Linked DNA regions of Homo sapiens: region 2 is linked to region 1. Evidence: promoter capture Hi-C in human tissues and cell types (Jung and others, 2019). All regions are on one chromosome and are shown on one strand. The core of a region is centred on a gene start or on the middle of the fragment in contact, and the rest is flanking DNA. Distances in the headings are between cores, read along the strand shown.

Region 1 (6,913 bases), core at 421-2,920:
TATACATGTGGCTTTAAATTTTGGAGATGTGGATAACTAGCTTGGATCAATATAAAAGATGAAAGCTTAAAACCTGTTCCTAACATACTGTTTAGACAGACTCCTACTAGCAGCTATGAATCATTAAACAGAGTAGCATTAATGCTCACCACATACATTAGATAAGAACTTCTAGGAAGTCCTCTGTTTCAAAAGCAGATATGATAAAAAAAGGCTTTAAACCTACAGGGTTTGCTCCTCCAGGGCTTCAGATTAGGGCAAATAACGCACTTCTGCCTACCAGCTGTTCAATACTCATCTCCCAACCCAAATCCACAAGTTCCACAAATGCTTTCGAATGCCTGTTGAAAAACATTGTTCAGTCTCATCACATACACACGTTCTACAGATAATTACAACTTCTTGTATGCCTACTTGTAAAACTACTAAGTAGTTCACATTTTAAAAAATTTCCCTAAGAATTTTGCTTCCTTTAAAAAAACTGCTTCTTCGATTCCTAAATCTATAGAACTCACTTTATCACGTCTTCTCGGTTAATCCAAGAATTAAAAAAACCATTTTGCCCATACTGATAACTTTACTACTCTGCAGGATCCGAAAAGCTCTCTATATGCCAGGTTCTAGGATTCACACACATTAACAACCTAAGATCCTTCAAGTGAGATAGCTCTTGCAGTACAGAGCACAGATTCTCAGGGTCGTGGGGGATACCGGCTGAGGCTCTTCAGACCCCCACCACAGGAGTTCCGTCCTCTAAGGGCAACCCCCTCCCCCTTGGCCGCGGCGCGAGTCCAGGCCTCCCGGGCACCTGCGGCCCCTGCCCGCTGCGGGGACCCCCCGAGGAACCAGCCCCCCGCCGGGCCCCAAGGAATCGGCGCCCACTCCCACTCCTGGAGGCCAGTGACTGCAGGCCTAAGCCGCCCGCCGGCCCCGGGACGCGACGTTACCTGTAGGACCACGTCGTTCGGCAGCTGCGCGGCCCGGAACAGCTCCAGCACCCGCCCGTTGACCACCACCTTCTTGGTGCTCTCAATGTCGCAGTAGGAGAAGAGATCTGAATAGTATTTCTGCTCCGCATCGCTCAGCGTTAAGCCTTCCATCTTCGCCTCCGGCTCACGGCCGCCCCGCCCCGCATGCACTACTCGGGGCCCGGCCCCAGGAACCTGGGCCGGCAGGGGCTGCGCGTGGCCCGGCCTCCTGCTAGCTTCCCGAAAACGCCGGCCCCGGCCTCACACGCGCCAGGTGCGCCCGAGCAACAGGGCCCGGAGGTCGCGAGGAGGGGGCCCGGCTGCGCTCGCCGCGCCGCTGCCTGCGAGGCCCGGCGCGCGGCTGCGGCTGCGGCTGCGACTACGGCTCCGGCTCCGGCTCCGGCTCCGGCCGCGGGGAGGGTGCAGAGAAAGAGGCGGGGGCCGCGGAGGCGCGAGGCACTGGCGGACTCCGCCCCCGCCGCGGGTTCGAGTCTCCCCGGCTCCCTGCCGATTCCCCCAGACTTCCCGCCTCGGCTTCCCCTTCCGTCCACGCCTCCGGAGCGGCAGCGCTTCCCGGAAAGTTGTGGGGCTTCGAACCTAAAGTTTCGGGGGATCTGGGCTGAGCGTGGCCGCCGCTCCGCCTCCCTCCGCCGCCATTTACAGTGCCCCGGCCCGGCCCCGACGCGCCCGCACCAACAGTGACAGCGGCGGCCGCGCTCCAGACCCGGATGTGAGGCCGGGAGGAGAGAGCGCGAGAGGGAGAGAGAAACACCCACCGGGCTGGCTTGGCCGCTCCCGGGAGAGGGAGGAGGCCGCAGCGCCCCCTGGTGGCCGGCGCCCGGCGGCGGGATGACCGAGCCGCCCTCTGCGCGGAGATCTCAGCAGCAAGACCCCCGGAAAGGGGGGTGCAGTGGGAAACAGCCGGCAGCTCATTAAGACCGAGATAACTAAGATCCGGGTTGCAGTTTTTATGTTTCGCAGTTTCTGGTCCTAAGCGTCTGAATAATTGGATTGAAAGGGGAGCCTTGTTCAGGTTATTATCATTCTATCTGTACCTTTTCGGTACAGATGAAGATAAATGCAGTATTTCCATCTGTTCTGAAGGGCTATGAACATCCGGGCTATGAACATCCTGGCTATCCGGGAAGCCTCCACGTAGACACCAACATTGAGGCTTCATCTCACTCGTGCTTCAAGCCATGTTTACCTGAGAAACAAAATGTGCTGAATAGAGGGGAAAACTGGCAAAGTTGTCCTCTTTGTTCACCAGGTCATTCCGGTCACTGGGAACTTAATACTCTACATTTATACCTTCAACTCTATCAACTCATGTAGGCCCGGGGCTGCCCACAGGGGCTGCCTTCCGTATTTTCTCCTTTATGAAAATCATGGAGTGGCGCTCTTTTAATCTGCACCTGTCCCAGAGAGGGGATTCTTCAGCTATTTCAAGTAGAATATCTTAAGAATTTATACTTAGCAAATATAAAATACTTCAAAGACGGGAGCTAAGGCAGAATTACCCAGAGTTCTGGTTTTTATTTTGTCTTCTACAAGTTGTTTCCCAGAGTGCGGATCCTATAAATGACACATATGAGGAAATTATTACAGGTTCCCAGTCATTTATCTGTAATTGCAAAATTCAAAGCGCACTGAAAACCCAAAGACTTTTTTTTGTAACCCTTTGGAAGTAAAACCTGCCCTGCCTCATTTGGAGGCAAAATCTAAACTAAGCTTGCATGAAGCTATTTCTAGCCTTTATGGATCCCACTTAGTGTCAATATTTACTCATTTCACTCCAGGTCTTTGTAGAATGTTAATATGTACACAGTCACAGGCATTCTATTATCTTTCTATTTTTTAAGAAAGATAAGGGATTTTAGACCTGTCAATGTCTTCTGACTTGACTAGTAGTATTTGATAAAGGTAAGTATATACTATCCATTAAGCTTATTTCCCATCTCTAAGACTTTCAGTTTGCTACAGCAGCCCCTCATGTGTCCTTTCAGGGCACCTGCAGCAAGTGATCAGACCCCCCCCAGACAGCTGCCTTCCAAAGGTGTAAACAGAAAGAGCACAATGGGGTAGGGATTGGCTCACAATTGTCTTTGCATCTTTTTCTCTGCCACCTCTCCTAGGCCTTGCAGCTCTTGTCGGCCCCAGGGCCTTTGTTCCTGCCATCTAAAATAGTCCTTCCACAAACCATGGCATGGCGTATTCTCTCATATGGTTTCAGGTCCCTGCTCATATGTCACCTCCTCAGAGCAGCCTTCCTGCAACAGCTGCTGTAAAATAATCCCACCATGCACTATCCCCTTATCTGAATTCCTTTTTTTTCTCTTTTGAGACAGAGTCTCCCACTGTCACCCAGGCTGGAGTGCAGTGGCATAATCTTGGCTCACTGTAGCTTCGACCTCCCAGGCTCAGGTGATTCTCCCACCTCAGCCTCCCAGGTAGCTGGGACCACAGGCCCAGGCCACCATGCCCACCTAAATTTTGTGTATGTGGCTTTTGTAGAGACAGAGTTTTGCCATGTTACCCAGGCTGGTCTCAAACTCTTGGGCTCACCCACCTCAGCCTCCCAAAGCGCTGGGATTACAGGCATGAGCCACTGCACCCAACCTGAATTCTTTTTCTTTATAACACTTTTCACTATCTGACATTACATATATAGCTGTTACATTTTTAACGGCTAATTATTGAATAATTACTAAGTTTCAGGCATTGTTCTAAAGCTTTACACTAATAACCACATTATTCACAACAACCCTATTAAGTGGTACTACTAGGTTTTTTTTTTTTTTTGACAGATTAGGAAACTGAGGCAAAATGGGTTAAGTATTGTGTAAGTCATGTTGCTATTAAATACCCGGATCTGGGATTCAAACTCCAGGCTGTCTCAACTCTAAAAATCACTACCCTATCTTGCCTGTCTAATTTCTTTGTTAAGTTTGTTATTAAGAAAATATTTCTTCACCAGGCATGGTGGCTTATGCCTGTAATCCCAGCACTTTGGGAGGCTGAGGTGGGTGGATTGCTTGAGCTAAGGAGTTCAAGACCAGGCTGGGTAACACGGTGAAACACCATCTCCACCAAAAATACAAAAATAGCCAGGCATGATGGTGTGCACCTGTGGTCCCAACTACTCGGGAGGCTGAGGTGGGAGGATCACTGGAGCCCAGGAGATAGAGGCTGCAGCGAGCAGTGATTGTGCCACTGCACTCCAACCTGGGAGACAGGACGAGACTCTGTATCAAAAAAAAAAAAAAAAAGAAGAAGAAGAAGAAAGAGAGAGAGAAAGAAAGCAAGCAAGCAAGAAAAGAAGGAAAATATTTCTTCATTGCCACAGTGCCAAAGCCCAGTATGTGACACATAATGTGTATCAATAATAATTTGTTGAATGAATGAAAGCATCAATTTTGACATTGATGTGATAAGCCATTCAATACAGTAAGTCCTCAATTAATGTTATTGTGGATAGGTCCGTGGAAACTAATTTTAAGCAAAACAAGGTATTCTAACCAAGTAGTTTAGCTTCAAAAGAAAACTTTTTTCTTTTCTCCTTTCTTGCCAGTCTCAAGCTGTAACCTTGAAACAAACTGTAGAAACCTTTTCTCTTTAGTCTTAAAATATAGCCTTGAAACATACTTTGAAACTCCACTCCCTTCTATTTCCCACAATGTACTCCCTTACCCAATGCACATTTATCTAACTGTATGCTTCTTAAAAATTCCAGGGGCTAATTTAAAATGAACTAGGCACAAAGGCCCAGCTGCAGAATTGTCCCCCACTTAAAGATTGCCTCAAGATAGATAATCTGCAGCCTGGCCACAGGCGAGATGACGCCAGCCTGCATTTTAGATGGACCATAACTCAAGATAGGCGTTGAAGCAAGACACACAGCCCGGGCTCCCGGCACAACTCTTGCATGTTTCCCATATCAAGGTTCCCTTTTTGAAACCTCTGCCTTCAGCCCAGACTTTTGAAGCAGTTTCCAGAGGTGTAAGCTGGCTGTTTCCCCACTGCTAGCTTTGAAAAATAAAGTCACTTTCCTTTCACCCCTTGTTATTGGGTTTGCAAAGGGCAAACAGCCAAGGCTGCACTTGGTTACGGTATCACGAAACCAATTTTATCATAGGCTAATTGATAATTTGCTACAAACAAGAGTTAAGTTGCTGTGACATATTTCTGGTCACAGAATCACCAAATTTCTAAATCGAGACCAAAACACTTCTAATATTAAACATTTAAGTAAAGGTAAGCTACACATGCAACTAAAATGATTAACTAAAAAAAAAATAACTACTTACCCTATTTTTGGTATATTGGTGAGTTACCACGGTTGTCCTGGTGGTGGGTTAAATCAAGGAATAAATGTCTGCAAAGTGAAGTTCAAAATCATCACAAACATGGTGGCTTGCTGAGCTCTCTGGCACCACCTTGTTTACTGTTTTGCATCTGTATGATCATCATATGCTTTACACATTTTTATTTTTCAGTCACTTATATTCATTCATTTTCCTACCTACTTATTCCATTTCGGGGTTGTGGGTAGCAAGAGCCTATCCCAGTGGCTCATGGGACAGGTAGAACCCAGCCCCTGTCTAGGATGTGATTGCATCACAGGGTATACACACACACACACACACACACACACACACACACACACACACATCCACACTCACTCAGACTGGGACCATTTAGACACCCTGACTTATCTAATGTGCACATCTTTGGGATGTGGAGGGACACCTGAGGATTCAGAGAAAACCCACACAGACATAGGGAGAGCATGCAGACTTCACACAGACAGTGGTGCCTACGGGGAATGCATTTATTTTTTCTCATCAATGTTATAATGAAACAATGTTGCTATTGAAGGACCTGTTACCTTCTAATCTCCTCCTAGTTTTGCACCCTTAACCTTAGAAACCTCCAGCACCACTCCTCTTTAGCAACCCAAAGTAATTATAGGATTGCTTCACTTCCAAGTTCTGGAACTCTGAAACTTCTTTCTCAGTCCATAACATGCTGTCCTTTCACTCTCACGTTCCAGTCCTCAAATAAGCATGCACCCTAGGCTGGGCGCGATGGCTCACACCTGTAGTCTCAACGTTTCCGGAGGCTGAGGCAGGTGGGTCACCTGAGGTCAAAAGTTCGAGACCAGCCTGGCCAACATGGCGAAACCCTACCTCTACTAAAATTACAAAAAAAAATTTAGCTGGGCATGGTGGTGTGCGCCTGTAATCCCCACTATTCAGGAGGCTGAGGCAGGAGATTCGCTTGAACCCGGGAGGCAGAGGTTGCAGCAAGCTAAGATCACACCACTGTGCTCCAGCCTGGGTGACAAGGCGAGACTCCGTCTCAAAAAAAAAAAAAAGAACAAACAAACAAAAAATACTTGCTCCTTGATATGGTTTGGCTGTGTTCCCACCCAAAATCTCATCTTGAATTGTAATTTCCATAATTCCCATGTGTTGTGGGAGGAACCCATTGGGAGGTAACAGAACCATGGGGGCGGTTACCCCCATGCTGTCCTCCTGTTAATGAATGAGTTCTCAGCAGATCTGTTGGTTTCATAAGGGGATTTTCCCCTTTTGCTCAGCACTTCTCCTTACTGCCACCATGTGAAGAAGGATGTGTTTGCTTCCCCTTCCGCAAAATTTTCTGAGGCCTCCCAGCCATGCTGAACTGAGTCAATTAAACCTCTTTCCTTTATAAACTACCCAGTCTTGGGTATGTCTTTATTAGCAGCATGAGAACGGACTAATGCGATATTGGTACTGCAAAGAGTGCGGTGCTGCTGTAAAGTTACCTGAATATGTGGAAGTGACTGTGGAACTGGGTAACAGGCAGAGGTTGGAAAAGTGTGGAGGGTTCAGAAGAAAATAGAAAAATGTGGGAAAGTTTAGAACCTCCTAGAGATTTGGAGGGCTCAGGAGACAGGA
Region 2 (6,951 bases), core at 2,041-4,540, 94 kb before region 1:
CCTGCAAAGTCATCTCTTTTGGGGAAAATCTCCGTTTTGTAGAGAATCTCCTCTTTCCAGGTCTTTTCCTGATCCAGGAGAGATTCAGCTGAGAGTATGTTATCTTTTAAGGTCTGATAAGAGACATTTACCATCTATTCTCCCTGAAGCCTGCTACCTGGAGGCTTCATCTACATAAGAACACTGGTCTCCACAATCTCTTATCTAAAGCCAGATACTCCTTTCTACTGATTCCAGATCTTTAGATAAACTTAACTCTTTCAACCAATTGCCAATCAAAAAATCTTTTGAATCCCCCCCATGACCTGGAAGCCCCTAATTCAAGCTGTCCCATCTTTCTGGATCAAATGAATGTATACCTTACATATATTGATTGATGTTTGCCTGTAACTTCTATCCCCGTAAAATGTATAAAATCAAGCTGTAACCCAACCATCTTGGGCACATTTTCTCAGGACTTCTTGAGACTGTGACTCAGGCCCTGGTCACCCATATTTGGCTCAGAATAAATCTATTTTACACAGTTTGACTCTTTGTTGACAGTAAGGTGGGTTTATGTTTTTGTATTCTCTGAAATGACGAAGACTTTCTCTTTTATTTTCTACATCTGAATGTATTATGCCTAGATGTAGACTTTTTTTAAAATCCTGTTTTGTGTTCTCTGAGCTTCCTGGACCTATGGTTTGCTGTCAGTAATTTTGTAAAATCTCCAGTCATTATTACTCCAGATATTTCTTCTGTCTCTCTTCATCTGGTATTCCCATTATGCATATGATTTGCCTTTTGTAACTGTCCCTATTACTTGGATATTCTGTTCTTTCCCCTGGTGGTCCCTACCCGATACCCCTACTTTGTCCCTGGTCTTTTTTCTGCTTTTCAGCTTGGTAAGCTTCTGTTGACATATCTTCAAGCTCACTGATTCTTTCCTCAGCTGTGTCCAGTGTATTAATGACCCCACCAAAGGCATTCATTTCTGTTATATTTATTTCTGGTATTATCTTTTCTTTCTTAGAGTTTTGGTCTCTCTTCTTACATTACCTGTCTGTTCTTGCACGTTGTCTACTTTTTCCATTAAAGCCCTTAACATATTAATCATATTTAAGTTTCTGCTCTGATAATTCCAAAATCTCTACTATATCTGAGCCTAGTTTTGATGCTTGCCCTGTCTCTTCAGTCTGTGTATTTTGCCTCTTAGTACCCCTTATAATTTTTTTGAAACAGAGTGTGTCACTCTGTCACCCAGGCTGGAGTGCAGTGGTGCAATCTAGGCTCACTGCAGCCTCTGCCTCCTGGGTTCCAGCAATTCTCCTGCCTCAGGCTTCTAGGTAGCTGGGATTACAGGCACGTGCCACCACGTCTGGCTAATTTTTGTATTTTTAGTAGAGATGGGATTCACCACATTGGCTAGGCTGGTCTCGAACTCCTGACCTTAGGTGATCTGCCCACCTTGGCTTCTCAAAGTGCTAGGATTAAAGGAGTGAGCCACCATGCCCAGCCAGCACCGCTTATAACTTTTTGTTGAATAGCAGACACGATGTGTCAGGTAAAAGGAACTAAACAGGTCTTCAGTGTGAAGTTTTATGTTTACCTGGCTGGGAGTTAGGTCATATTAACTGTTTGTTGCAGCTTGGCATCAGAGGCTACAGTTTTCTCCAGTGTCCTTTTCTCTCCCTATCATCTTTGGGTTTCCTTAGAGACCCCTTCTTAAATAGGGTCTGAGCCTTACAGTTATTTTAGCTGTAATCCCATTATTATACCAGAGCCCTACTGCTGTGGTAGTTAAGATGTCAGAGGAGAAACATTCTATAGTTCTATGATCAATTTTGAGTCTGTTACTTCTGGACTGTGACCTTCACAAGTGCTTCTCAGTTTTTTTTTGTTTTTTTTTTGTTTTTTTTTGTTTTTTTTTCCCCACCTCTAACATGAGACGTAAGGTTAGAGGTGGCTGGAGTTGGGTATTTCCCTTCTCCCAGGTTGATTAGGCACTGGTAAAGTCCCAGTTGGTTAGGTTCTAGTACAAGTTTCCCTTGAGGTCAGGCCTTTGTTAAGAACAAAATATTCTGGGCATATTTCAAAATGGTACTTTTCTCCTCTCCACCATGTAAGAATATATATATATTTTTTTATTTTTATTTTTTTTTGTGAGACAAGGTCTCACTCTTTCACCCAGACTGGAATGCAGTGGCCTGAGCTCGGCTCACCACAACCTCTGCCTCTCAGGCTCAAGGGATTCTCCCGCCTCAGCCTCCTGAGTAGCTGGGATTACAGGTGCACGCTGTTACTGCTCGGCTAATTTTTGTATTTTTAGTAGAGACGGGGTTTTACCATGTTGGCCAGGCTGGTCTCGAACTCCTGACCTCAAATGATCCATCTGCCTTGGCCTCCCGAAGTGCTGTGATTACAGGCGTGAGCCACCGCACCCAGCCAGAATAAGGAAATTTTTATTAGCTCTTCATTGCAAGAATCTGGCAGGCTCCTAGAGGCAAAACTCACACCATTGTGTGAGCCCAGAGTTATTAAATGCTAAAGCTAGTCCACACTTTATCTCTAGTAATTAAGCCAATACCCTTCAAGCATCCCTACTCCATGCAGGCAATTTCTGTTTCTGATAAGCTTTGATTCTCTGTAGCAGCCTATCATTCCAGCTTTTGGGGTGATAACTTCAATTCTATAAAGGATCGGAAAAAAGCTGTTGATTCTGAGTTCTTCAGCTTTTTGTTGTTGTTGTGAGGACAGAATTACCAACTTCCAAGCTCTTTCTTTTTAATTATTATTTTTTTGAGACGGAGTCTCACTCTGTTGCCAGGCTGGAGTGCAGTGGCGCAATCTCAGCTCACTGCAACCTCCACCTCCCAGGTTCAAGCGATTCTCCTGCCTCAGCCTCCCAAGTAGCTGGGATTACAGGCACACGCCACCACACCCAGCTAAGTTTTGTATTTTTAGTAGAGATGGGGTTTCACCATGTTGGCCAGGATGGTCTCAATCTCTTGACCTTGTGACCCACCCGCCTCAGCCTCCCAAAGTGCTGGGATTACAGGAGTGAGCCACCACACCCGGCCTACAACTTCCAAGCTCTTTACATGTGGACTGGAAGCTGGAGGTCTAATTATCAGAAATTAGACTTTGGTCTACAGTACTTGGACAAATGAAAATACTTTGAAGATTTAGGATAATCCAAAATCATTTTATGCTCTAATTGTGAGGTACATTTATATTTAAATAGGCACTACTCTGAGCTATGAGGTATGAGGTATGAAAAATTTACCAGGCCCAGAGACATGAGTATGGGACTTCAGTCACACCTCCCCATCCATGCTTGCCTAGGGCAATTGTTCCTGGGCTGCCTCACCCATTATCTTCACATACTGGAAATTGTAGACAAAGAACAATTATGGTCAATCAATAGCTTGTGCTATTTTAGTATAAAATCTTGGTAACTCTGGAACTGCCTCTTCTTTTTCTTTAAAAATCCACTTGTAAATGCTACTAATTGGGGTGTATATTCCTGGTAACTGAATCTATGCTCCAGGGTTGCAGTCCCCAAGCTTAGCCCAAATAAACTCTACTTATATTGATTTTGCCTCAGCTTCTTCCTTTTAGGTCAACGACACTGTCTCAGTGATTACATTTATATTATTTGCTAATAAATTTAAATGTAATTTCAAATTAATATTTGAAATTGACTGGGTGTGGTGGCTCATTCCCGTAATCCCAGCACTTTGGGAAGCTGAGGTGGGAGGATCACTTGAGGCCAGGAGTTCTAGACCAGCCTAGGCAACATAGTTGGACCCCGTCTCTACAGGGGAAAAAAAAACGTTTTGAAATTAGGTAAATGCAAAAAGATATCACACAATACTTAGCCTGCAACCTTGTTTTCTGTCATTTTAGAAAATCACATAAAACCCAAGGAATGCCATCCCCATGATTTCTACCAGGAATTTTTACTTAGAGGAAACATACTCTGCTTGTATTTATACATACAGTACCAACTCATATAAGGCTTTACTCTTTACCATATATGTTAGCTTCTCTCATTTGATAGATTTAATTACAATTACCTGATGAGGCAGGTAGGACAGGAACCACGTTATGGGTGGGCAATCTGGCTTAAGTTGCCTAAAGTCATAGAATAAGTGCTGGTCTGGAATTTAGAACCAGGTCTCCCAGTGCACAGGCAGTGCCGTTTCCAGTGATTGGACCAGAAGGTAGAAAGGTGAACCAAGCCTTCCTCATAATAATCTCACTAACATAGTAACAATTACTAAACATATATATATATATTTTTCTTTTTCTGAGACAGAGTCTCGTTCTGTTGCCCAGGCTGGAGTGCAGTGGTGTGATCTCGGCTCACTGCAACCTCTGCCTCCGGGGTTCAAGCGATTCTCATGCCTCAGCCTCCCAAAAAAGCTTGAAGTACAGGGGCGTGCCACCACTCCCAGCTAATTTTTTTGTATTTTTAGTAGAGATGGGTTTCACCATGTTGGCCAGGCTCATCTTGAACTCCTGGCCTCAAGTGATCCACCCATCCTGGCCATGTGTGAGCCACTGCACCTGGCCACAAATAACAAACAATAACTATGACACAAAAAGAACGAGTAAGTGTTTGCATCCTAAATGAAATTTAAAATAGAGATGAAGTCACACAGTTATTTTAAGAGCTGGGAAATTCAGAGGGCAATTTGTTCCTCTGAGGACATGGACCATTATTTTGGGTATGTTAAGCTTTTAGAATATATTTTGTACCTTGGAACTTCTGTATTATCGTTTTTTTCATAAACACTGATTTTCATTGCTGAATTTTTTTTTTTTTTTCCTTAATGAGATGGGGTCCTCCCATGCTGGCCAGGCTGGTCTTGAATTCCTTGGCTCAGATGATCCTCCCAACTCGGCCTCCCAAAGTACTGGGATTACAGGCGTGAGCCACTGCACGTGGCCAAAGCTTACTGATTTTTAAGCATGCTTTTTTTCTTCCAATGGAGTCTTGCCAAAGGTCTATTCACCAGTGCAGGACTGGTGAATAGAGGCCTGGCCTTGTTCATCAAATAGAGCCATCCACTTCCCAGGCCAATTTTCCTTGGGGAAATATCCTATTATACTGCCAAAAAGATACACTGTAAACTTTCCTCTTAGCTTTCCCCAAAGGGATCTACAGTCACTTAGCAGGGTAACTATGCAACAGAGAAAATGTACCCAGGCTTCTCAAGGATACTAGACTTTGGTCCAGAATTGACTCATTTTGGGGACCCCAAACGCCACTGTGATCCACCAGGCTAGGTGATAATCAGTTTTGACTCAGGTCAGCTCACAGTGGTGCTGATGACCTGCTGTTGTCCATGTACTGAAACTCTCCATGTACTGAAACTCTCTTTTTGAGAGAGTTTCATTCTTGTTGCCCAGGCTGGAGTGCAATGGCGTGATCTCGGCTCACTGCAACCTCCGCCTCCTGGGTTCAAGCGATTCTCCTGCCTCAGCCTCCCAAGTAGCTGGGACTATAGGTGTGCACCACCACACCTGGCTCATTTTTGTATTTTTAGTAGAGACGGGGTTTCGCCATGTTGGCCAGGCTAGTCTCAAACTCCTGACTCTGTGATCTGCCCACCTCGGCCTCCCAAAGTGCTGGGATTACAGGTGTGAGCCACCGCACCTGGCCTAAAACTTTCTTTTAAAGTTTTATGTATTTATACAAGTTGGGTACTTCCTGCCTTTCTCTGTGTCTCTTGTGCTGGCTAATACAGTAGTTTAACAACAATAACAAAACACTTCTAGAATGGAGTTAAGAATGTACATTATAGTAGCTGTGTTCCATTTTGCTGAATCACTGAATCTATCTGTAAATAAGCAAAGAAACTCTATTCAAGTTCAGAACAAAACCCACCATTGGAGTTGGTTCTGAGTGTGAGCAGAGGCAGATTTCTGAAACACTAGGAGCCACTGCAGCTGCTCCATTATGTCAATACTAAAGATGAAATTACAGCCATATCTGCAGGCCCCACACCCATGGGTTCAACTGAGGATGGAAAACATTAAAAAATAAATAAATACAATTAAAAAAACAAATAAAAACCTCATACAGTATAAGTATTCACATAGTGTTTACATTGTATTAGATATCATAAGTAACCTAGAGAGAATATGCAGATTATATGCAAATACCAAGCATCCTCAGATTTTGGTTTTCGCAGGAGGTCCTGGAACACATTCCCCATGGATATCAAGGGATGACTGTATCTGCTTTTGCGTATTTAGTTTAACCGTATTTACGGTTAAACTTTTAGAGTTTTTGGTGTTTGGTCTGTGGATAAACATTGTTGGAGATCTTGAGGGGCTTAATTTAGTAAATGGCTTTTGAAAAGTTTTTCTAGATAAAAATTATATATAAAATAGCCCTCTCAGAATCAGACTGAAATAATAACCTCATTGTGTGTTTCTTTCCCTCACTCATGTCCTTGGATTACGAAAGGCTCAATTCTAAGCTCAAGTTAGTGTGGCTGCTCCATCCCTTCCCTGGGCCAACCATCCACCTGGTCCAAGTGGGTCACAAAACTGGAATTCTCTTTCATTCACCTCTAATATCGGCATTGTCCCTTCCAAAGGAAAAAACTGAACATCAATTTACCAAAGCAAGTACCTCTTTGAATGCTGCTTCTTCAAAGCACTCTGTTGGCATATTTCCTGATAATTCGGATACAGCAGTTTTATTACAGATTTAAACAGTTTCTAAACTTCTATGATAGGAGAAATAATTGTTCTTATCATGGATATGGTAAAAAAAAAAAATTGCTCCCCTTCTCCCCCAAAAAAGCAAGACCATGGTAGAATTCTTTTGCCTATTCAAAATGGCTACTCACCACAGACTGCCCATCACAGACTTAAAATGCACCTCCTGCCTTTCTTGCTTCCTCTCTCCCTCATCCTTAGTTCTATTCATTCCTTTATTCTCAGAATAACCTA

What was found. Contacts are between HindIII fragments. The study calls those that stand out against the background at their distance.
Region 2: a fragment that was not itself captured here is called in contact with the fragment with the promoter of REPS1 in region 1 in 4 of the 25 tissues and cell types used here (H1 embryonic stem cells, IMR-90 fibroblasts, aorta and 1 more).

What each region holds. Positions count from the first base shown.
Region 1 is chr6:138,986,583-138,993,495 of GRCh38, forward strand. REPS1 (RALBP1 associated Eps domain containing 1) reads right to left here and starts at 1,671. Exons shown (of 20, transcript NM_001286611.2): 1 at 948-1,671. The coding sequence starts at 1,100. RefSeq lists silencers at 1,173-1,472, 1,663-1,902. The HindIII fragment of the contact is 5,323 bases long and covers 1-3,307 here.
Region 2 is chr6:138,891,296-138,898,246 of GRCh38, forward strand. The region is part of intron 20 of ECT2L (epithelial cell transforming 2 like); the gene reads left to right. It overlaps LOC107986650 (a long non-coding RNA gene), which reads right to left and starts at 4,335. Exons shown (of 2, transcript XR_001744381.2): 1 at 4,059-4,335. The HindIII fragment of the contact is 3,079 bases long and covers 1,752-4,830 here.